Linked DNA regions of Homo sapiens: all the other regions are linked to region 3. Evidence: promoter capture Hi-C in human tissues and cell types (Jung and others, 2019). All regions are on one chromosome and are shown on one strand. Each heading gives the region's core, a stretch centred on a gene start or on the middle of the fragment in contact. The rest is flanking DNA. Distances are from core to core; before and after follow the strand shown. Region 1 overlaps CSNK2A1 (casein kinase 2 alpha 1). Region 2 has its middle 4.6 kb from the start of DEFB128. Region 3 holds the start of SOX12 (SRY-box transcription factor 12).

Region 1 (3,321 bases), core at 821-3,320, 190 kb before region 3:
AATCCAGTCTGATATGATAGTCTTTGTCTTTTACCTGGATAATTTATTCCACTTATATTTAATATAATTAATCATATTCCAATTCAACTTTCTTCCCCTATGCTTCTTATGTTCTAGATTTTTTTCTTCTCCCTTCTTAACATTCTTTTGGATTCTTTTTATGATTTTACTTTTCCCTCTTTCTGGTTTGGAAATATATGCTATTTTTATTCTGTAATTAGTTGTCATACATCTTGTGACTTGCAGCTATAACTTAGCAAAACCTGATATTATAATTTTATCTTCTTTTCATATAATAAAAGACCTTTAGAAAGAATACTTTGAAATCTCCTCAATACACTGTGTTTTTATTGTTATGTATTCTATGTTTTAAAGCTCCTCAAGGTATTGTTATTCTTTTGTATAATCAGTGTTTGTTTGGAGCTGTCTGTAAATTTTCCTCTTTTTTGCTCTTTATTTTTTCTTTCAACTCAGACCTTCCAAAATGGGATTATTTTTCTTTTTTCTTTAGAGACATTTGCTTGATAACAGAATTTTAATTTGGCGGCTATTTATTTTTTTCAGCACACTGCAGGTATTAAACTACTTGGCTTCATTGTTGGTTTTGAAAAATCAGCTGTTCTAATGTTGCTCTTTGAATATAATCTGCCTTTTTCTGTACTTGCTTGTCTTTAGTTTTTTGTTTTTGTTTGAGACAAGGTCTTGCTGTTTTGCCCAGGCTGGCCTCCAACTCCTGGGCACAAGCAATCTTCCTGTATCAGCCTCCCAAATAGCTGGGACTATAGGCCTGTGCCATTACACCCAACTCATCTTTGTTTTTTCCTGCTATTTTGTAATTATATGTTTGGTTTTGGATTTCTTTTTATTGATCTTGTTTGGAAATTGTTTGCTTCTGGAATTTGATTGTGTCTGATTGCTTCTGGGATATTTTCAACTGTCTTCAGTTACTGCCTTTATCCCATTCTCTTTTCTGCTAGTACCAATTAAAAGTATATCAAACTGGCTGGGCACGGTGGCTTACGCCTATAATCACAGCACTTTGGGAGGCCAAGATGGGCGGGTCACTTGAGGTCAGAAGTTCAAGACCAGCCTGGCCAAAACATGGCAAAACCCCCTCACTACTAAAAATACAAAAATTAGCCGGGCATGGTGGCATGCACCTGTAGTCCCAGCTACTCTGGAGGCTGAGGCAGGAGAATCACTTGAACCTGGGAGGCAGAGGTTGCAATGAACTGAGATCGTGCCACTGCACTCTAACCTGGGTGGCAGAACAAGACTTTGTGGCAAAAAAAAAAAAAAAAAAAAGTATATCCAACGATTTCACTATATTTTTCCTCTTGTTTTTTGAGATCTGCTAGGACATTGTATTTAAAAATAAATAATTGGCTGGGTGCGGTGGCTCACACCTGTAATCCCAGCACTTTGGGAGGCCAAGGCGGGTGGATCACGAGGTCAGGAGATCGAGACCGTCCTGGCTAACACGGTGAAACCCCGTCTTTACTTAAAAAAAAAAAAAAAAAAAAAATTAGCCGGGCGTGGTGGCGGACTCCTGTAGTCCCAGCTACTCGGGAGGCTGAGGCAGGAGAATGGCGTGAACCCAGGAAGCAGAGCTTGCAGTGAGCTGAGATCAGGCCACTGTACTCCAGCCTGGGTGACAGAGCGAGACTCTGTCTCAAAAAAATAAAAAATAATAAAAATAAAAATAGATATTTGTAGTGATCATTTGAGGCCCACAGTAAGGTACTTTCCTCCATGGAGAGCTTGCTTATATCAGGTATGCATGGGCACTAATCCAGAGACCACCTTAAAACAAGCTTAAGATATGATATTCCCTTCAGTAGGGCTTTAATTCCTCCCTGGATCTTCCACTCCCTAGTCACTCTCACCATTAGGAAGTATGCCTCTGAAGTCCCACCTTATGAAGAGGGCCTCCTATTAGACTTTTTGTCTTGTGAGAGCCCTGGGCTTTGGTTTATGTGAGAACAAAATTCTAATTTTCAGGATCAACAAAGGCTTTCCAGGCTTCCTTGCTTGCTTATATCTCTGGGTTTGCATTTTCTATTCCCTTTTGGCTATAATTACTTCTCTGTCTTATTTAAAGATGAGTGGGCCAGGTGTGGTGACACATGCCTGTAGCCTCAGTTACTTGGGAGGCTGAGGTGGGAGGATTACTTGAGCCCAGGAATTTGAAGTGGCAGTGAGCTACGATTGTGCCACTGCACTCCAGCTTGGGCAACAAGGAACTGATTAGTGTTGGAAGTAGAGAAAAGAAAATAAAGAGAAAGAATTCCAAAGCTTGTGAATTAATGATACTGTTTGTTTTAAGCACAAAATGGTAACAGTCGAGTAAACTAATAGTCTCCAAATCAGATATAAAAAGGTTGCTGACCTGATGTGCAAAAAAAGCACATCAGGTGCTTTTTTACACCTGATGCCACGTTGCATGTGGCATCCAATGATGTGTTTCTTATAGAAGATAACAAAATGTGCCAGCCTTTGGTCATTTTAGGGTGCAAAATTATAGGTCTTTAAAATTCTTAACTTGCTTTAAAGTGTTACGCTTTGCAATTTCTTGTTTTAATGTTTTCCATCTGAATAATTCCTGTGCGTACTTTAAGTGCAGTTTTTTTTTTCTCTTACAGTTTTTCCCCATTTTAGGTACTCCATAAATATTTGTTGAATGAATGATGGGTTGGTGATAGTTTAAATACCCTTCAACGTCTGTACACCACCATGACTTAATTGTTTCAAGCACTGATCACTTGAGATTGTAATGGTCTGTTTTCTTTGTCTGAGGGCAGAGATACTTTCTCCAGGACCAAGAGAAAGAATGCCTTTCTGGCAGTCAGGCACACATTTCCTGGTACATAGTAAACGTTCAGTAAATGCTTGATGTATGAGCATTCTGCTCTTGATTGGAAAGGAAGAAAGAAATTAAGGTTAAGTATGGACATTTGAAATAAGTAATTCAGGTAACATTAGCTACTTGTGCTTTTTTGTATTAAGTTGGCCTTCTAATCAGTGCCCCTTTTGTAAAGGGAAATGGGCAAGTTTGACTGAATTTTTCTCTTTGCTTCTGTAGCAAGGTAGAAAAGTATACATATTTAAGGTCTCGCTGAGTTCCACAAGTCTTGTTTGTCTCTTACCAGTTTATGTTGCCTGATTGCTTGGAAAAAGAGTTCATTCTCTGCAGCAGTGCATAAAAGGTGTCTTCCTGTATAGCTGCTTTTCCTCTAAACAAGCAGTCCTAAACCATGCAGTCAGTGCAATCTAAGCACATTCCTCATTCTTTGCTATAGAAATCTTTGTCCTGTCGGGATG
Region 2 (3,689 bases), core at 134-2,633, 130 kb after region 3:
ATATACACCATCGAATACTACACAGCCATAAAAAATGAAATCATGTTTTTTGCAGGGACATGGATGGAGCTGGAGGCCTGTATCCCAAGTGAGTTAACACAGGAACAGAAAACCAAATACCACGTGTTCTCACTTATAATGGGAGCTAAACATTGAGTCCACCTGGACACAAAAAAGGAAACAAACACCGGGGCCTACTTGAGGTAGGAGGAGGGTGGGAATCAACAAACTACCTATCAGGTACTATGCTTATTACCTGGGTGATGAAATAACCTGTACACCAAATCCCTGTGACATACAATTTACCTATGTGACTAACCTGCACATGTTCTCCTGAACCTAAAATAAAAGCTAAAAAAATTCATACACAGACACACACACACACACACACACACACACACACACACACGAATGGGATTAGTGTTACAAATACAAATGGAAAGAGCTGTGGGGGTTCAAAATAGTAATTAATCAAGTCTATCAGAGGAGTTAGGAAGACATCACAGAGGAGGTCTTATTTTTATCTGAGCCTTAAAAGACAAGAAGGATTTTCTGGGAGGTTTTGAGATTTGGAAAGAAACAATGCAGAATTTGAGGAAAAACATCAGCAGGACTGGTGCTGACAAATACACCTTTGTATCCTGGGTGAAATATGCTACTGGAGTTCTGCTAGAGTGTATCTATCAGACGTAGGAAAAAATGTTGTAGAAGATGGACATCTACTTGGAGAGGAAATTCCCTCTTATTTGATGGTCTTGAACATGGAGGCAGTGGGAGTGGGGTTGAGAAGCTTCCAGAGCACCATACTTGGCTGAAGTAAAGGTTTAGAACAGTCAAATATCTCATCTTTCTTGATTCTAGTTAGAAAAAGCTAAAAGAAATCCCATACACTAATCTGGAGTCCAACTTCTTAGTTCTTATTGTGCACTAAGGTGGCAAACGATTTCCTGCATAGCTGGACTTATATTCATCTAATCCTTGGGTTATCTCTGTTTAATTTATTTAGAAATGGAACCAACTCCCTTACAGCAATGAGTAAAATTGAATTACAGAACAAGGGAGCAGTTGGCTGTCCTCCAAAATTGTAGCTTTGATGGTGGTCTTTAAACCCACAGGTGATTCAGTTAGCACTTTTCTTCTTGTATTTATTAACAGGAACTTAATACCTGTTTTTTGAATAAGTATTTCCTTGATCCACAGACCCTCAGCAAGAAAGACTTAGAAAATTAAAACAAAAACAAAAACAAAAAAACAAGCCAGGCGTGGTGGCTCATGCCTGTAATCCCAGCACTTTGGGAGGTTGAGGTGGGTGGATCTCCTGAGGTCAGGAGTTCAAGACCAGACTGGCCAACGTGGTGAAACCCCATCTCTACTAAAAATACAAAAATTAGCTGGGCATGATGGTGCACGCCTGTAATCCCAGCCACTGCACCTAGCCCTTAATAAATATTCACACATCTGATCTTCGTGCGGCTAAATTTCCTGCACCCATTAACTTAGCTGTCTTCATATGATAAATATGATTTGATGAGATTCTGTAAGCCTCACCAATCTTTATTTTCTGTGCCACTCCAGGATTACAAGGTATACAGCTACTAACTGAGGGGGATAAGGGCTCTGGTTACTGGTATCCATAGTAAGCTATATACAATACTAATTCCTAACCTTACTCTTTCCCTGACTATGTTGTGATAAGAGTTTAATCATCAACGGCTACTTCTACAGCTTTCAGAAATTCCAACATTCTTCCAGATACTGTCACAGAAAGATATTTGGATTAGATGGGACCTCATTACTATAATTAGGTGCCTAGAAATTGCAAAAAGTGGTAAACAGCATTTTTAAAGGAAATGCCATAATTAACTTTATTGCTGTGTTGGAGTATTTTATCTAGCAGTAATTTGTTCAGTACTTTTCAGCCATTCAGTGATTATGTATTGAGCATATAGCATGAATTTTGTGCTATGAGTTAAGAACTCCTAGTCGAGGAGGCTTTGGAAAAGGGAAAAACTGGGCAAATCGAATGCCTAATAGGGCTTGCTTCCAGTGCGGTCTACAAGGACACTTTAAAAAAGATTGTCCAAGTAGAAATAAGCCACCCTCTCATCCATGCCCCTTATGTCAAGGGAATCACTGGAAGGCCCACTGCCCCAGGGGACGAAGGTCCTCTGAGTCAGAAGCCACTAACCAGATGATCCAGCAGAAGGACTGAGGGTGCCCAGGGCAAGCTCCAGCCCATGCCATCACCCTCACAGAGTCCCGGGTATGCTTGACCATTGAGAGCCAGGAGGCTAACTGTCTCCTGGACACTGGCGCAGCCTTCTCAGTCTTACTGTCCTGTCCCGGACAACTGTCCTCCAGATCTGTCACTATCCAAGGGGTCCTAGGACAGCCAGTCACTAGATACTTCTCCCAGCCACTAAGTTGTGACTGGGGAACTTTATACTTTTCACATGCTTTTCTAATTATGCCTGAAAGCCCCACTCCCTTGTTAGGGAGAGACATTCTAGCGAAAGCAGGGGCCATTATACACCTGAACATAGGAGAAAGAACACCCGTTTATTGTCCCCCTGCTTGAGGAAGGAATTAATCCTGAAGTCTGGGCAACAGAAGGACAACATGGACGAGCAAAGAATGCCCATTCTGTTTGAGTTAAACTAAAGGATTTCACCTCCTTTCCCTACCAAAGGCAGTACCCCCTTACACCCAAGGCCCAACAAGGACTCTAAAATATTTTTAAGGACCTAAAAGCCCAAGGCCTAGTAAAACCATGCAATAGCCCCTGCAATACTCCAATTTTAGGAGTACAGAAACTCAGCGGACAGTGGAGGTTAGTGCAAGATCTCAGGATTATCAATGAGGCCATTGTCGCTCCATACCCACCTATACCTAACCCGTATACTCTGCTTTCCCAAACACCAGAGGAAGCAGAGTGGTTTATAGTCCTGGACATTAAGGATGCCTTTTTCTGCATCCCTGTACATCCTGACCTTCAATTCTTGTTTACCTTTGAAGATCCTTCGAACCCAACATCTCAACTCACCCGGACTGTTTTACCCCAAGGGTTCAGGGATAACCCCCATCTATTTGGCCAGGCATTAGCCTAAGACTTGAGCCAGTTCTCATACCTGGACACTCTTGTCCTTTGGTACATGGATGATTTAATTTTAGCTGCCCGTTCAGAAACCTTGTGCAATCAAGCCACCCAAGCACTCTTAAATTTCCTCGCCACCTGTGGCTATAAGGTTTCCAAACCAAAGGCTCAGCTCTGCTCACAGCAGGTTAAATACTTAGGGCTCAAATTATCCAAAGGCACCAGGGCCCTCAGTGAGGAACATATCCAGCCTATACTGGCTGATCCTCATCCCAAAACCCTAAAGCAACTAAAAGCTTCCTTGGCGTAACAGGTTTCTGCAGAATATGGATTCCCAGGTATGGCGAAATAGCCAGACCATTATATACACAATTAAGGAAACTCAGAAAGCAAATACCCATTAGTAAGATGGATACCTGAAGCAGAAGCAGCTTTCCAGGCCCTAAAGAAGGCCCTAACCCAAGCCCCAGTGTTAAGCTTGTCAAAGGGGCAAGACTTTTCTTTATAAGTCACAGAAAAAAACAGGAATAGCTCTAGGAGTCCTTACACAGGTCTGAGGGATGAGCTTGTAACCCGTGGCATACCTAAGTAAGGA
Region 3 (3,464 bases), core at 931-3,430:
ATTCCCAGTTGGGGGGAAAAAGGGACGTATAGGTAGGCTGTAGAGGCAGCCACGCGACCGGAGAGGTGGTGCGCGTGGGTGTAGGAGACCCCATACCGGAAAAGGGGCTATGCCACTTGGGAGAGTTTCAGGCCCAAACCAACCCTTCCGAGTGCTCCTCCCATTAAGGCAGCGACGCCCCGTTGGCTGGAGAGGAAACCTAGGGCTCCCGGATCAAAGGATTTCCCAGGATCGCTCTACACTCGCCCCCGCTTTTGCCCGGAGCGGGCGAAGAGTGCGGCTCCGCTGGGACCAGCCCCCTCCTCCCCAGAAGCATTAAGCATGCGCACGAAGGGGGTGGGCCCCAGCGGAGGGGCGGGCCCTAGCGCTCCGGGGATAAAAGGGGTGCGCCCCTCCCCCCAGGGAAGGGAGGGGCGCAGGAGGCGCGTGCGTTGCCACCCGGCCGCATCGCCCCCCTAACCCAGAGAAGGCGGGCCGGGCGAGGGAGGAGAGATTCCGGAGCAAAGGAGGGGGCGGGTCCTCCGGCCACGAGGAGGGGCGTGTGCAAAAGGGGGGAGGGGTGCAGGTCTGTAGGAGAGGACGGGAGGTGTATCGGAGGGGGCTGGCTGCTGGTGGCTGTGCAGGAGGGGGCGACGTGGGGAGGGGCTTGGGTGTCGGGGAAGGGGTGGGGGTTGGGCTGCCTTGGGGTGTGTCTGCGGGGGAGGGGCATGTCTGGATCTGAGGGGGGATGGGCACGTCCAGGAGGGGGCAGGCTGCGCGGGAGATGGGGTGCCAGCCTCGGCCTCCGAGGGGCCCCAATACCTGATTCCTGTATGTAAACAGCTGGTTTGGGGGCGTGCGCGCCCCGCTGACGGTGGGCTCAGTAGGTGAAAACCAGGTCTGCGATGCTAGACGGGCGCCAGTCCCCCGCGATCATCTCGGTAACCTCGGGGGTGCAGTAGTCCGGGAACTCGAAGTGCGACGTGCCCGAGGGAGGCTGCAGGTCCGGGTCGCGATCCAGGGCGCTGCAGTCCAGGCCGGCCGGGCCAGGGGGCAGCCTGGACAGAAAGCCCAGCGACTCCTCCCCCGACGCCACCGTCTCCTCTTCACCTTCCTCAGCCGCTGCCGCCTCCTCCTCCTCTTCCTCCGGCTCCTCGTCCTCCGACGGTGTCGGGGAGGCGGCGGCGGCGGCGGCCGCCCCCTCGCCCGACGGCCCTTGGGCGCGCTCCGCTTGTCCCCGAGCGGCCCGTCCCGCCGGGACCATCCTCCACAGCTCCCGCCCCGGGGTCTCGACCAGGCGCACTTCCAGCAGCTCCTCGTCGTCGTCTTCATCGTCGTCCTCGGGCGCCGCCGCCCCGCCCCCCAAAGGCCCTCCCGCTGCTCGGCGGCCCCCGCGGCCAGGCAGCTGCGGCCCGGGCTTGAGCCGGCTGCCGCCACCGCTACCACCGGGGGGGCGGGGCCGCGCCTTGGCGGGCGCCCCCTTGCTCTTTTTGCGCGGCCGGTACTTGTAGTCCGGGTAATCCGCCATGTGCTTGAGCCGCAGCCGCTCCGCCTCCCGCACGAACGGGATCTTCTCCGAGTCCTGCAGCAGCTGCCAGCGGCGGCCCAGGCGCTTGGAGATCTCGGCGTTGTGCATGTCGGGCCACTGGTCCATGATCTTCCGCCGTTCGTGCTGCGACCACACCATGAATGCGTTCATCGGCCTCTTGATGTGGCCGCTCGGGGTCTTGCACCAGCCGGGCTCGCGCGCCCCCTCCTCGGCCGGCCCGGGTCCCGGGGGCGGCGGCCCGCCGTCCCGCTTGGCCCTCGCGCCCCGCTGCTGCACCATCGCGCCTGGGCCCGGGGCCGCTAGACGCCGCCGGGGGCCGTCCGCATCCTCCGCGGCTGGGGGTGGGGGAGGAGGCAGCGGCGACGGAGGGGCGGCCCCGCCCCGCGGCTCGGCCCGGCCCCCGCGAACTGGGGAGCGAGGAGCTGGGCGCTCGGGCCCAACGGACGGCGGGGGGAGAAGGTCAGCGCGGTCTCAGGCGGGCTCGGCGCGCCCCCGCCGCCTCCGGCAAGTTGCGTCCTGGCTCACAACACACATTGTTTTGCGGGGGCCGAGGAATCGCACCCTCCGGGCCCCCGCGGGCTCTTCCTGCAGCCTCTGGCTCCGCCGCGGCCCGCGCGCGCCGCTCCCCGCCCGGCCGCCGACGCCTTTCAGTGTCTTTCTCCCCGCGCGGCCCCGCCGGCGCGCGCACCACCCCTCCCCCTCGCCGTCTGCGGGCCGCTGCGGCGCGCGCGGGGCCGCCCCGTGTAAACACCGAGGTGCCCGCTTGGGCTGCGGCCGGGCCCCGCCTCGCGCTCGGGCGCCGCGTCACCCGTTGCTGGGCAGAGAAGCCGGTATTTGCATCTCCCAATCGCTGGCCGCCGGAGCGGGGCGGGGCTCGGGCTGCGGGGCTGGGCGGTCTCGCGGCTAGGATTGGGGGAGACCGGCGAGATCGGTTTCTTTTCTTAGGTTAGGGGTTGGAGGAAGGGTAGGGGACGCGAGCCTGCTTCCATCTGACGCTGGACGCTTGTCCCTGCCCCGCGTTGCCTTTTAAATTTTAGCTCATTCCGAGACACCTGCCGTCAGGTAGGATTTCCGCCCTTTCCTCTTTCAGGGACGTCTTTTCGGACCATCCCAGAAGAGAATTTGGGGGGCCCAAGACTCAGGAAAGCTTCTTAAGGGGACGAACTCAGGTTGTCGTAGATGTTGCCCCCCGCCTACTACACACAGGGTCCGACCACATATGGGACCAGCAAATGCTTTTGGACCTAGTGAACAAATCCCTTTCTCATATATATGTATATTTAATCTCGTTCGAAGCTCCATAAGAATCCGGAGGGAGAAGGGAATATGATAATATGATGCCCAGTTTCCAAATAGGAAGCACCGAGGACACGCAGACTAGGATTCGATTCCCAGGCTCGCGGTCCCAGCTGTCTCTCCCCTGCTCAGCACCAAGGGCCGCGGGGCACCTCGCCTGCCAGCCAAAGGTCCTGAGCTGGGCGGACTTCCCGCTTTTCACAAACCGCAGGCGACATTCGAGGATGCGTGGGTGCGCCATTCCCAGGTCCTACCCCACCCCGTAGCCTGCCCGGTGCCCGACTTGGGCGCGTCGCCCCACCCAAGCCTGGAGAAGCGTGCAGGGGCACGGGGCGGAGCCAGTCCTGGGGGCGTGGCCGGGTGGCCGGCACGAGGCGCGTGGCGGGGAGGGGCCGCGCGCTCCCGGCTCACCACGTGTGAGCCAGTTCGGGCACCACTGGGCGTGTGCCGCCCCTGGGGGAGGTCACCTTCACGGCGTCGTGAGCATGGGCGATGGGAGGGGGCGCTGAGGCCTCGCCCTTGGGAAGCAGGAGCTGGGAGGTGCCCGGATTAGGGTCTTTAAGGTGGCATTCCGCTGGGGCGTAGCGGGCATGGTTTGGGGCTAGGAGAATGCGCCTCTGGCGGTACAGCTCACCCACTT

The links. The method cuts DNA at HindIII sites, captures the fragments that hold promoters and counts their contacts. A contact is called where the count stands out against the background at its distance.
Region 1: a contact is called between a fragment that was not itself captured here and the fragment with the promoter of SOX12 in region 3, in 2 of the 25 tissues and cell types used here (pancreas and spleen).
Region 2: a contact is called between a fragment that was not itself captured here and the fragment with the promoter of SOX12 in region 3, in 1 of the 25 tissues and cell types used here (lymphoblastoid cells).

What each region holds. Positions count from the first base shown.
Region 1 is chr20:516,918-520,238 of GRCh38, reverse strand. All of the region lies in intron 2 of CSNK2A1 (casein kinase 2 alpha 1), which reads left to right. Among named protein-coding and RNA genes, the nearest start is that of CSNK2A1, 25 kb to the left of the region's middle. The HindIII fragment of the contact is 4,623 bases long and covers 1-3,321 here.
Region 2 is chr20:192,466-196,154 of GRCh38, reverse strand. No RefSeq gene overlaps it. Among named protein-coding and RNA genes, the nearest start is that of DEFB128, 4.6 kb to the right of the region's middle. The HindIII fragment of the contact is 6,858 bases long and covers 1-3,689 here.
Region 3 is chr20:324,268-327,731 of GRCh38, reverse strand. It overlaps SOX12 (SRY-box transcription factor 12), which reads right to left and starts at 2,180. Exons shown (of 1, transcript NM_006943.4): 1 at 1-2,180. The coding sequence starts at 1,807. The coding sequence ends at 860. NRSN2-AS1 (NRSN2 antisense RNA 1) reads left to right here and starts at 2,480. Exons shown (of 3, transcript NR_109990.1): 1 at 2,480-2,590. RefSeq lists silencers at 1,051-1,540, 1,561-1,620, 1,691-2,070, 2,181-2,490, 3,051-3,310 and 2 more. The HindIII fragment of the contact is 5,512 bases long and covers 1-3,464 here.